2 separate regions of the Homo sapiens genome follow, and region 1 is linked to region 2. Evidence: promoter capture Hi-C in human tissues and cell types (Jung and others, 2019). All regions are on one chromosome and are shown on one strand. The core of a region is centred on a gene start or on the middle of the fragment in contact, and the rest is flanking DNA. Distances in the headings are between cores, read along the strand shown. Region 1 overlaps CAPN10 (calpain 10). Region 2 holds the start of FARP2 (FERM, ARH/RhoGEF and pleckstrin domain protein 2).

Region 1 (5,423 bases), core at 322-2,821, 760 kb after region 2:
ACCATGGCCTCTAAAGTCACGGAACCCTGCGCTTTCGAGGCCTCCTCTCAGGCAGTAGCCTGGGACGCGGGAAGCAGGTCCTGGCTGTGGCCTTTGGGCAGAGCTGCCCAGCAGGAGGGTGTGGCCGCCACCTTCAGGGCCTGCCTCGGGGACAGTGGCTCCTGAGGGCCTGGGGGAAGGGATGCTCAACATAAGGGCCTGGCCAGCCCAGGTGGGGCCCTGCAGGCAGGGTTTGCTCCAGAACTCTTCACGGGGTCCCCACCAGTCTATCCTGACATGGACACAGTCCCTGCAACTGTCTTCCCTTCATAGGCACTGTGCCTGAGAAATACCTTGACCCCAACTGTCCCACCTCAACCTGCACCATCAGGCGCCCTGCACAGGACCTGTCCGCCCACAAACCCAGGGATCTAGGGCAGCTCCGACCCAGCTCAAGCCTCTGGCTTGGGCACTGCCCTGCGGGGTATTTCTTTGGTGAGCCGCCCCTCACTGTTCGCCCTGAGTTGCTGTACCCCAATAGGCGGCACCACTGGCTTCATCCGAAGTCAGCACAGAAGCCAGTGGATGAGGGAGATCTGTGGCAGGCTCTGCACGCAGGGAGATGGAGCCCCATCCTGCTGCTCAAGAATCCGTGTCTGAAGATGCCGAGAACCCAGCTGCCACAGCCACTGCTGCTGGAGGGCCATTGAACCAGCAAGCAGAGGGGCTCACGGGGCAGGCTCCAGGGCCAGGGCAGCTTCCTGTGGGTGAGTCAGGAGGGTGGCTTGGCGTGGCCAGGGCGTGGAGAGGGGGACAGCGGCACAGGTCCCAGTGGGAACAGACACCAGGACTCCAGAGATGGTCGTGATCCGGCAGCAAGGCCCAAATCAGGCTCACTGGGTGCTATGGTTTGAATTTGTGTTCCTGCCCAAATCTCATGTCGAATTATAATCCCCAGTGTTGGAGGAGCCTGGTGGGAGATGATTGGATCATGGGAGCGGATATCCCCCTTGCTGTTTTGGTGATAGTGAGTTCTCCTAAGATCTGGTCATTTAAAAGTGCACAGCACCTCCCCTTCGCTCTCTTCCTCCTTCTCCAGACACCTGCAGACTGCCTGCTTTCCCTCCGCCATGATTCTAAGTTTCCTGAGGCCTCCCCAGCCATGCTTCCTGTACAGTCTTCGGAACTGAGGCAATCAAACCTCTTTTCTTTATAAATTACCAGTCTCAGAGTTGTTTACAGCAATGTGAAAAAGGACCAATACACGGGGTCTCCCCAGGCACAAAGGGACTCAGGAAGCGAATGGAATTTAAAAGGGATTAGAGCTGGGGTTGGCGGTCATGCCTGCAATCTTAGTGCTTTGGGAGACCAAGGCAGGAGGATCACTGAGGCCAGCCTAGGCAACCACATACTAAGACCCCTAAGCATTCAAAACTTGAAAAAACTAACCAGGCATGGAGTGTGCGCCTGTTTTCCTACCCACCTGGGAGGCTGAAGAGGGAGGATCACCTGAGCCCAGAAGGTCGAGGCTGCAGTGAGCTATGATCATGCCACTGCACTCCAGCCTGAGCAACAGAGCAAGACCCTGTCTCTAAAACAAAAGGGCTTAGTGACAGCCCTCCCCACCCATGTCTGGAACTGTCTTCTGCACCGTTCAGTGACACTACAGCTCTCATCACAGCATTTGGTGTGAGGGACGAGGGAGAGAGGCCTGGGGAAATAAACAATCCTAGGACACTGCGCAGGTGAACCCTGGCTGGAGGCAGAGGAGCCGTCCAGATCCAAGGCTCCCAGTCCATGTGAACCTGGGGTTCCTCCCTCTGCGCAACTCCGGTTCTAACACCCGTTTCCGAGATGTCCTTCTTCGCCACAGCCTTGGCAGTGCCTTCGCTGGCTCTCCCCACCCCTCACTCCCCAGTCTATCAGTCTGTGTCCCCCAAGACCAGGGCTTGACCTGCCCCGGCCAGCCTCAACCTCAGCCCCCTGGCCTGGGGCATGCCCTGGGCCCGCCCCTCCAAACTTCTCCCCTCCTCCCCACTCACCATCTCCCCCTGAAACCTGCCCTGCCTGGGTTGGCTCTGCCCACCTCCCAGGCCCCCAGCCCCTCCAGAGGCCATCCTCATCCTCACCATCTCGGCAGGCACCCAGCCCTCCCCACAGCCTGCTTGGCAAGAGCAGGCACAGCCTGGAACTACCTGGAGCAAGACTGATCTGCAAATCATCAGCGCTCATGTTTATTTATAAAGTTACATCCTAAAAGTGATTCGAACAATAAATAGTTATAAAGAAGATCTGCTGCCCTACCCTCTGGGTGTGAGGCCTCCATATGGAGTCAGCAGAGGATCTGGGAGGGATCCTGGGAAGCTCTGGGATCCTGGGGTCTCTGCCGTCTCAGTGGCGCAACAGAAGCCAGCAAGCTTCCCACCCTTCCTTGCAGCACCAGCTGGCCCCCAGGGCTGCGTCTCTCCTGACGGAGGCTTCCCGTGGACCCCTAGGCCGCAGCCTCCTGGCAGGGCTGGGAGGCAGGCCAAGACTCAGGACCAGCCCCCACAGTGCAAGGCTGGCCGGCCCAGCTGCTGGGAACCTGTCAGGCCCTCGGGCTCCAGTCACCTGAGCTGGCACAGGGGGCCACCCTGTTAGGTTTTCATCACTGCCATGATGGAGACCTGCAAAGACAGATGGGGGGCCCGGGCAGCGGTGGCACTCGCCCCTTCTCACACCCCACCCCGAGTGCAGCCAGGGAATGGGACGCAGCCTCAGCTCCCCCTGCCCTTCAAGGCACCGCCCGGGGCTCTCACAGGAAGAGTCAAGGGCACCTCACGTCCCAGGCAGAAACCACCTGCCTGAGGTTGCAGGTAGACCCTAGGCCACCAGGCAGCCCCAGGCAGGTGAGCCGGGCTGGCGGGGCTGCATACACACCTCTTGGAGGAACTGGCCCAGCATCTCCTGGCTGTGAATGGATGGCCTGTGGAGAGACACCAGATCAGCGCTCCCAGACTGCACTTGTCACACAAGTGGCTGTGTGCTCCTGGCCCACCTCCCACTAGACTCTCCTTCCAGGCTCAGACCAGCAAGGAAGGGTCCCCAGGTAGGCAGGACAGCCCTGGTCTGCCAGGACAGATAGGGGCTTGAGGGTGAGGGGCAGGCAGGAGACGTGGGGGGACAGGCGAGCACTAAGACTCCAGCACCCCAGCCTCCAGCTGGCCGCCCCCAAGTCCCAGAGCCCCACCTGTCAATCCTGGTTGCGATGGTCACTGTGAAGGCCCCCTCTGTGTCCGGCAGGTAGGTGGAGGGCACAACCTTGTAGGTGCCCGCAGGCAGGAGGCAGAGCCGGCTCACCTCCTGGGCGTAGCGATGTGGCACGCAGCTCAGCAGCGGCTCCTGCAGCAGCAGTGGGGGTGCGTCCTGGCTCCTTCCACCCTCTGGGACCTGAGGAAAGCGCAGGCTCAGACTGAGGGGGCCAGCCTTGGGGTAGGGAGCCCAGCCCAGGGCCATCTGCTCGGATGCCCTTGGCCCTCTTGAGTCACATACAGCCCCTTCTCTGAGGAGGGGCTGCCAGGCCTGGACACTGGACTCGCCTCCTCACCAAGGCCTGGCCACCCTTGCCAGAAGGTGCCGGCAGTGGGGCCCCCGCCTGGAGGCCTGTCACATCATCAGGGGCTTTAACACCTGTGACTGCCCAGCCCGCCCCAAGGGCTCCCACTGGCCCTGGCATGTGTTTTCCTCAGAGCTCTAGGGGACCTGAGCCGGTGGCCCAGGGCAAACAGCGAGGGTCCAAGGGTCCCCAGGCAGCCCACTGTGAACCGAGGGTTGCAGTGCCTTCCTCGTCAGGGCCCCTGCATTCCAGGGGACACATGTCTGCAGAGAATGAACCTTGGGACACAGTCATTCTGAGTCAGGGTAAGTGGACAAGGGGCTGCTGGCTGAGCTCAGTGACTGTGGACTTCCTCACACCCGAGGGGCTGCTGTGGCCAGCCAGCCTGGGCCTCCCCTCCTCTCACTCCTGAGTCCATCAGCCCCCTGCGTTCCCAAGCCAGGGCTCGACCCACCCCCGCTGGTCTCAACCTCGGCCTCCTGTCCTCTCCAAACTTCTCCCTTCCTCCCCACTCACCACCTCCTCTGGAAACCTGCCCTGCCTGGATCAGCCCTGCCCACCTCCCAGGCCCCCGGCCCTTCCAGAGGCCATCTTCGGCCTTGCCTCTGAGAGGTTGGAGATGGGAGAGGGCCCTGTGCGGGTTCTAGGCAGCGCCTCGAAGGGCAGGGGGAGCCCAAGTGACTGAGCCCAGAGCCCTCTGTTGGGACAATGGAGGCCAAGATGCAAATTCTCTGAGGGCCCCTTCTGCTCCCCCTCCCTCCCTGGGGCAAGGAGCTTGCCTGGAAGATATGGAAGCCGATGGGGTGGAACTCGGTGTCACTGGGCCGGCAGTGCTGATGCAGAGTGATGCGGACGCAGCGGGGGCCAGGGCCCTCGGGGACCGAGAAGGGGAAGCAGGGGTTGGTGGGGTATGAGGCAAAGTTCCTGCTGCCCCCCGCCGTCTGGCCGACTCTCCAAGAACCCCGTAGCTGCACGGTCCCCCACTCCCCCGCAGGCAGGGCTGCCCCGGGGGTGGTGTTCTTGGCCACTGCCCTGATGGCGCTGCCAAGAAGACAAACATGGGAGGGCGCTGGCAGCAGGTTCCCGGTGGCCTCAGTTCCCACATGGACACCTGCCAACCACAGAGGGAAAGTGCCCAAATCCTGCCTTGGAAGGGCCTGTGGCCTCGGAGAGCCAGCAGCACTGCGCGGTTCCTCTCACCTAAGGGAGACTCGCCCGGTAGAGAAGACTCGGAGCAGGAACTCCCCTGGCGCGTCCTTCAGGAAGGTGCTGGGGACAGCCAGGTAGTAGCCCGGTGAGAGCTCACAACGCAGGTGGACCTCCCGGTCGTATGCATGGCACGCGGTGCCAGCCACGGGGGGCATGGACAGGACCCTAGGCAGATTGACCCGCCGCTTCTCTACCTGTGAGCACGTGCAGGAGGCTCAGTGTGGAGGAGCGGCCGGGGTCAGACGCCCTGGCCTTGACCTCCCTGCTGCAAGCACAAGGGCCTCTGGAGTTGACAGATGAAAGCGCCAAGGCCTGTCAGCACCCTCCACCCTCTCTCAGGGACCAGCTAGAGATGCCCACCAATCCCGGGCTTCACTTGGCCCTGGCGCCAGTATCTGTCCCAGACACGAGCCTGCAAGTCCTCCTTGTAGCTGGGCCCACAAAGGCACCGTGGCCCAGGCAACCTGGGGGCTGCTGGACAGTGGGCCTTCCAGCAACTTCTTTTGCAAGAGGAAAGGAACATCATGTGGGCCACATCCATGAAGGGACAGGGAACAGTGTGGTGCCAAGTGTCACACCCTGTCAAGACACACAAGATGAAAACCCAGCCCCTGAGCGAGCAGCCGGCATATCCTCGACC
Region 2 (5,516 bases), core at 3,017-5,516:
AGGCACATGCCACCACACTTGGCTCATTTTTTGTATTTTTAGTAGAGACGGGGGGTTTCACTGTGTTAGCCAGGATGGTCTTCATCTCTTGACCTTGTGATCCACCTGCCTCTCCATCTCTTGACCTCGTGATCCACCCACCTCGGCCTCCCAAAGTGCTATGATTACAGGCGTGAGCCACCGCTCCCAGCCTCACTTTCTAAATTAGTTTTTATTTGTAACTTTGCATTCTTTCTCTTAAAGAGTTCTCCCCTTCCCCCAAATTGTATACCTTCAAGCTCCATAAAACCTGGCATCTACCTCTGCCTCAGAAGAAATCTGATTAATTCATTCAAATATTTATTGAGCTCTATTCTGTTTCAGGCAAGTCTAAATGCTTAGGGATACAGGAGTTCCTAAGAGAGAAAAATTCCCCCCTATATAGTGGACAAATACAAAGAAGAGAGTACCTAATATATATTAAATGGTGATTTAAGTGCCTTGGAGTGAGTAAAGTGAGGGTGGTAGAGAGGAAGTTGGCAGCTGGAGGGAGACAGGGAGGAGGCTTCATCAAGAGGACAAGGTCCAAGACAAGGCCTCAAAAATGCACTGGTACACATTACAACAGCTACCGTGTCCTGTATGACCACCACTGCAAGGAGATGCATGTCAAGCCCTTCGCTTATGTCATCTCATTTAATCCTCACAATAACCATGTGCAGCTGGCATCAAGGAACTCAGGCTCAGAAAGGTTAGTGATTTGTTAGCAGTCACTCAGCTCCACAAGCGGCCTCAACCCCATCGTGATTGCATGGTGTGCACAGAGCACACAAAGATACAGAAGTTTAATTCAGAAAGGGAGACGACTGAGAAAGTAACCAGTACTACCTGCCCACTGCAGTCACAGAGAGAGCAGAAAGAAAGAGGCAGCACCGCTGGCTAGCCTGACCTGGAGCAGCTTTCCTCACAGGGGAACAGGAGACCAGGTGGACAAAGGACATAGTGTGTGCACAGGCAGAGGACTACATAGAAACTGCAGGAGCAGCTGGGAAAGGATGAGTATAGTTGGGCTGAGACACCCGAGGGGAGGTGGGGAGGTGGCCTGGGGTTGTGCTGCGCGAGCTCTAGTGGGCCAACTGGTTGGAATCTCATACCAAAGTAGGTTTTGCAGCTGGGATAGGACATGACCACATTTTCATTTTGGGAAGCAATCAGGAGGATGGGCGGGGAAGGGGAAAGATGGGATTAAGCAAGATTCATCACTGCATCCTACAACATTATAGGGCCTTTTTGTTTTTGAATTTTAAAATGGCAATAAGCTAAAACACCAGTTTAGGGGAAAACAATTCATGACTCTTAAAATAAAACCACTTACAACACTCTAACTACCCTCCTGATCCTGTTCACCTCCTCATGTATTTTTACAACACTATGATTGCTGTGTACACACCATTTCAACTTTTCAGTTAAGTCACATTTTAAAGCATATTTCCATGGATCAAAATGGTTCAAATTTTCCTTGGATGGGAGGATGGGATTCAGCTTGTGGAAGCATGTTTACTTGCTATGGAGTACTCTACCCTACTGACACAACAAAGTTTATCAGATTGTTTTGAAAAGTGTGATTCCAAAATCAAAATCTTTGCCACATACTGCTACTTTCCAAAAAGATTAGACCAATTTATAGAATCACTGTCAACTAAACGCTCCCCAGAAAATCACCAAAGACTGGGCTTTATCATATTGCTTTGTAGGATCCTCAACTTTTCAACTCCCTGTGGCATTGACAAATACGCTATGGTCAAAGGACTCTATATTCTGATCTCAGAGAACATGACCGGAATTACCTCAGCTCAGTATCCAACACTACAATGGGGTTTTGCCTGTATATCTAGCACTATGCTGTGTTTATGAAGCTCATGACGCACTGAGTAAAGGGGAAGCTGGCAAGCTGATATGAAAGTGGGTGAAGGAAAAATAAGAACAAAACTGAAAGGACAAGCAGCAGTAAGAAAAATCTGTTACTGTCCGAATATAGAAGAGGTATTGATGTGACTAGAAGCAGGGGTGTTTGGAAAGGAAGGAAGCAACTGAATTCTTTGGGCCAAATGGATTTAAATGAGCTCACATGGAATTGCCCATGCATTGATCTTTGCTTTGGCAATCCAGTTCATACCATTCCCTCTAAACAGGATAAATTTGCTTAATTATTGCCTAATTTTTTCTCTACTGTTTTTTGTAAATATCCAGGGTTAGCTTGTTCTACTTTCTACTCGGATTATTTGTCCACCTGATAATAATAATGGCTAACATTTATTAAGCACTTACCTTGTGCCAGGCATCTTGTTAACACAGCTTTTTTTATTTATTTTTTTATTTTTTTGAGACAGAGTCTCGCTCTGTCGCCCAGGATGAAGTGCAGTGGCACAATCTTGGCTCAATGCAACCTCCACCTCCTGGGTTCAAGTGATTCTCGTGCCTCAGCCTCTCAAGTAGCTATGATTACAGGCGTGCGCCACCAGCCCAGCTAATTTTTGTATTTTTAGTAGAGATGGGGTTTCGCCCTGTTGAGCAGGCTGGTCTGGAACCCCTGAGCTCATGCAATCTGCCTGCCTCGGCCTCCCAAAGTGCTGGGATTACAGCCACTGTGCCTGGCCAAGTAAATTTTAAACTCATTTTTTGAATAAGGAACCTGAGGCAGAGAGAAATGAATACACCTTATATCAACTTCCTCTTTGGGAAAGGAATTAGTATACAAGGAACCTGGAAATTTACTAACGACTGATAGTCCTATAGGTAAATAAGCCAGCAAACGTCTGCAGTCCAGGAAACTGCATCATCAGCATTTAGTTTGTTAACAGTGAACCACCTAATGAGAATCTGCAACAAGGATAGGGCACATGAGAAGTACAGATGGTATTTGCAAGTACCCTAGGTGTGACCCTAAACTGGTCATTCCACCTCTCTCAACCTCCCTTTCCTCTACTTTAAAACGGGGCTGTGCAACTTGGTCATGTCTCTGAAGAGTTTTGGAAAACTGAATAAATAACGAGCATGAAGTGCTTCCTAAACCTTTAAGGACCTCAAAAAACAAAACAAAACAAAACTTTCAACAAGCAGATGTAGAAAATTTAAATTATATTTGGCCTACAAGTAAAGGTTACTCCATGCTTCCCTACCTCAAATGTCCTCTCCCATCTCTCTGGTACTGAGAAAATCTGTGTCGCCTGTTATAAGGCAGTCTACACAAGACCAACACGCTAACCCACTGCCACCTCAGGGTTATCAAACATTTACACAGTGGCCCAGACAAAAATATCCCACGGAAACAAAACAAAAACAAAAACCCAGAGAGAAAAACCACCCTTTAAAGATTTGGCCTTGGGTTTTAAATTTGCCCATCCCTTTTTAACACTATGTATTGACAATCTTTCCTTCAATGATGCCTTGTTCTAATTTCTGCTTTTCACATCCATTAATGGCACATGATAGGCCAGGGGTTGCTGCCATAGCGTAAACGGAAAAGGTGCCCGTAATTCGGGTGTGTAATGTACTGGGCCATATTCTGGTCCCCAGTTTTCATGGGTTTCCCAAAGGCTACCCACTGGCTTATGAGTATTTCTAGCCCTTAGTGGAGTAAAAATATTAACACCTAACACTTGATTCCCACCTTTAAGATACAATTTAAAGAAATGCTAAAAAGGCAAACGGCTCAAAATGCCTCCACCAGGCACCTCCAGGCCCATACCCTGCGGGTCCCTATGGCCCACTCTGGGGTGTCCTTCCGGGATGGGACACTCCCCGGCCCACGGCCCTGCCGGCCTCCACGGGGCACAACTCAACCCGCGAGTCCACGCGGGACACTCCCCGGTCTACAGCCCCACCGGCCTCCTCCACGCGGCACCCCTCAACCCGGGAGTCCACGCGGGCCACTCCCCGGCCCACCGCCCCGCCTGCCCCCACGCGGCAGGCTCCCTACAGACGGACGCTCCTCTAACCCGGACCCGCCTAGGAGCTCCAGCCGCCTCACGATGGCCTTCAGAGGCCGGGCGGGACCATCTCTGGTGGACCGCGGCCTCAGCGCCCCCCCCGCCTGGGCCTCTCGCCTCGGGCCTCGGGCTTCGCCGCCCACCCGGAGAGGCCCACCCCTGCCCCACGCGCCCAGGCCGCTTCACGTCCTCACCCTCGGCCTCTCGCTCGCCCGCCGCGTCCTCACCGGCCTCGCCCGGCCTCCGCAGTCGCAAGCAGCAGCCGCCAGACTCGCGTCGGCGTCGCCTGCTCCCAACTGCCCGCCGGCAGCCCCCGCGCAGCGCGCCCCGCCCTGACCCCGCCCCCGCGACGCGGACGCGCAGTCGATTGGCCTGCGGGGCGCCAGGGCGGAGCCTTCCCGTCCCGCGGCCTGAAAGCGCAAGATCGAGTTCTGATTGGTGAACGGACGGAGAAGGGGCGGGAGCAGGCAGGCAGCTGCGTAGGATATAAATCTGTGCAGCGCTCGGCTCGTTGGGCGGGGCGTCGGCTTGCTGAGCGAGGCAATGTCCTAGGCGAAGCCAAGGCTCGCTGGGCGGGGCTAGATCTTGGGCGGGGAGTCGGCTCGTTGGGTGGGGCTAGGTCCTGGGCGGGGAGTCGGCTCGCTGGGCGGGGCTAGGTCCTGGGCGGGGAGTCGGCTCGCTGGGCGGGGCTAGGTCCTGGGCGGGGAGTCGGCTCGCTGGGCGGGGCTAGGTCCTGGGCGGGGAGTCGGCTCGCTGGGCGGGGCTAGGTCCTGGGCGGGGAGTCGGCTCGCTGGGCGGGGCTAGGTCCTGGGCGGGGAGTCGGCTCGCTGGGCGGGGCTAGGTCCTGGGCGGGGAGTCGGCTCGCTGGGCGGGGCTAGGTCCTGGGCGGGGAGTCGGCTCGCTGGGCGGGGCTAGGTCCTGGGCGGGGAGTCGGCTCGCTGGGCGGGGCTAGGTCCTGGGCGGGGAGTCGGCTCGCTGGGCGGGGCTAGGTCTTGGGCGAGGTCTAGGCTCGCTGGGCGCGGATAGGTGCTGGGCGAGGCCTAGGCTTGCTGGGCGCGGATAGGTGCTGGGCGAGGCCTAGGCTTGCTGGGCGCGGATAGGTGCTGGGCGAGGCCTGGCTCGCTGGGCGGGGATAGGTCTTGGCCCGGGCCTTGCCGGCTGTCCTTGCACCCTTTGGCTCAGTCCCTGGCTGCCAGCCTCCTCCTTCCTCCAACGCATTGCATCCCTCGTGGGACTACAGGGACCGAAGGGGATCATCGAAGGATCGCGCGAGGCTGTGCTAAGGCTGAGACAGGCTGCTCCGTGGTGGCGGCCAGGACGGCCTTCCTCTGGCCTAGGGACCCCCACCCGAGAATGGAAGACTGACTTGCTGTGGCACACTTCCCTTCTCTTGAGAAGTTCATTGAACTCCTATGTGTTCTTCAAGACCCTACCCATCGTGCTCTCCTAGCCCGGCCCTGTCACCCACTGTCACCATGTGGCTGTTGAGGGAATAATTAACTTCAGGAAACACCCGGGCACTTAAGAGACTCCTCCTATGGTGCTGTG

What was found. The method cuts DNA at HindIII sites, captures the fragments that hold promoters and counts their contacts. A contact is called where the count stands out against the background at its distance.
Region 1: a fragment that was not itself captured here is called in contact with the fragment with the promoter of FARP2 in region 2 in 1 of the 25 tissues and cell types used here (dorsolateral prefrontal cortex).

The regions. Positions count from the first base shown.
Region 1 is chr2:240,595,873-240,601,295 of GRCh38, reverse strand. It overlaps CAPN10 (calpain 10), which reads right to left. Exons shown (of 12, transcript NM_023083.4): 8 at 4,775-4,977; 9 at 4,354-4,615; 10 at 3,209-3,408; 11 at 2,899-2,944; 12 at 2,192-2,645. The coding sequence ends at 2,616. Among named protein-coding and RNA genes, the nearest start is that of CAPN10, 12 kb to the right of the region's middle. The HindIII fragment of the contact is 8,272 bases long and covers 1-5,423 here.
Region 2 is chr2:241,355,035-241,360,550 of GRCh38, reverse strand. FARP2 (FERM, ARH/RhoGEF and pleckstrin domain protein 2) reads right to left here and starts at 4,266. Exons shown (of 27, transcript NM_014808.4): 1 at 4,163-4,266. RefSeq lists a silencer at 3,929-4,478. The HindIII fragment of the contact is 18,573 bases long and covers 1-5,516 here.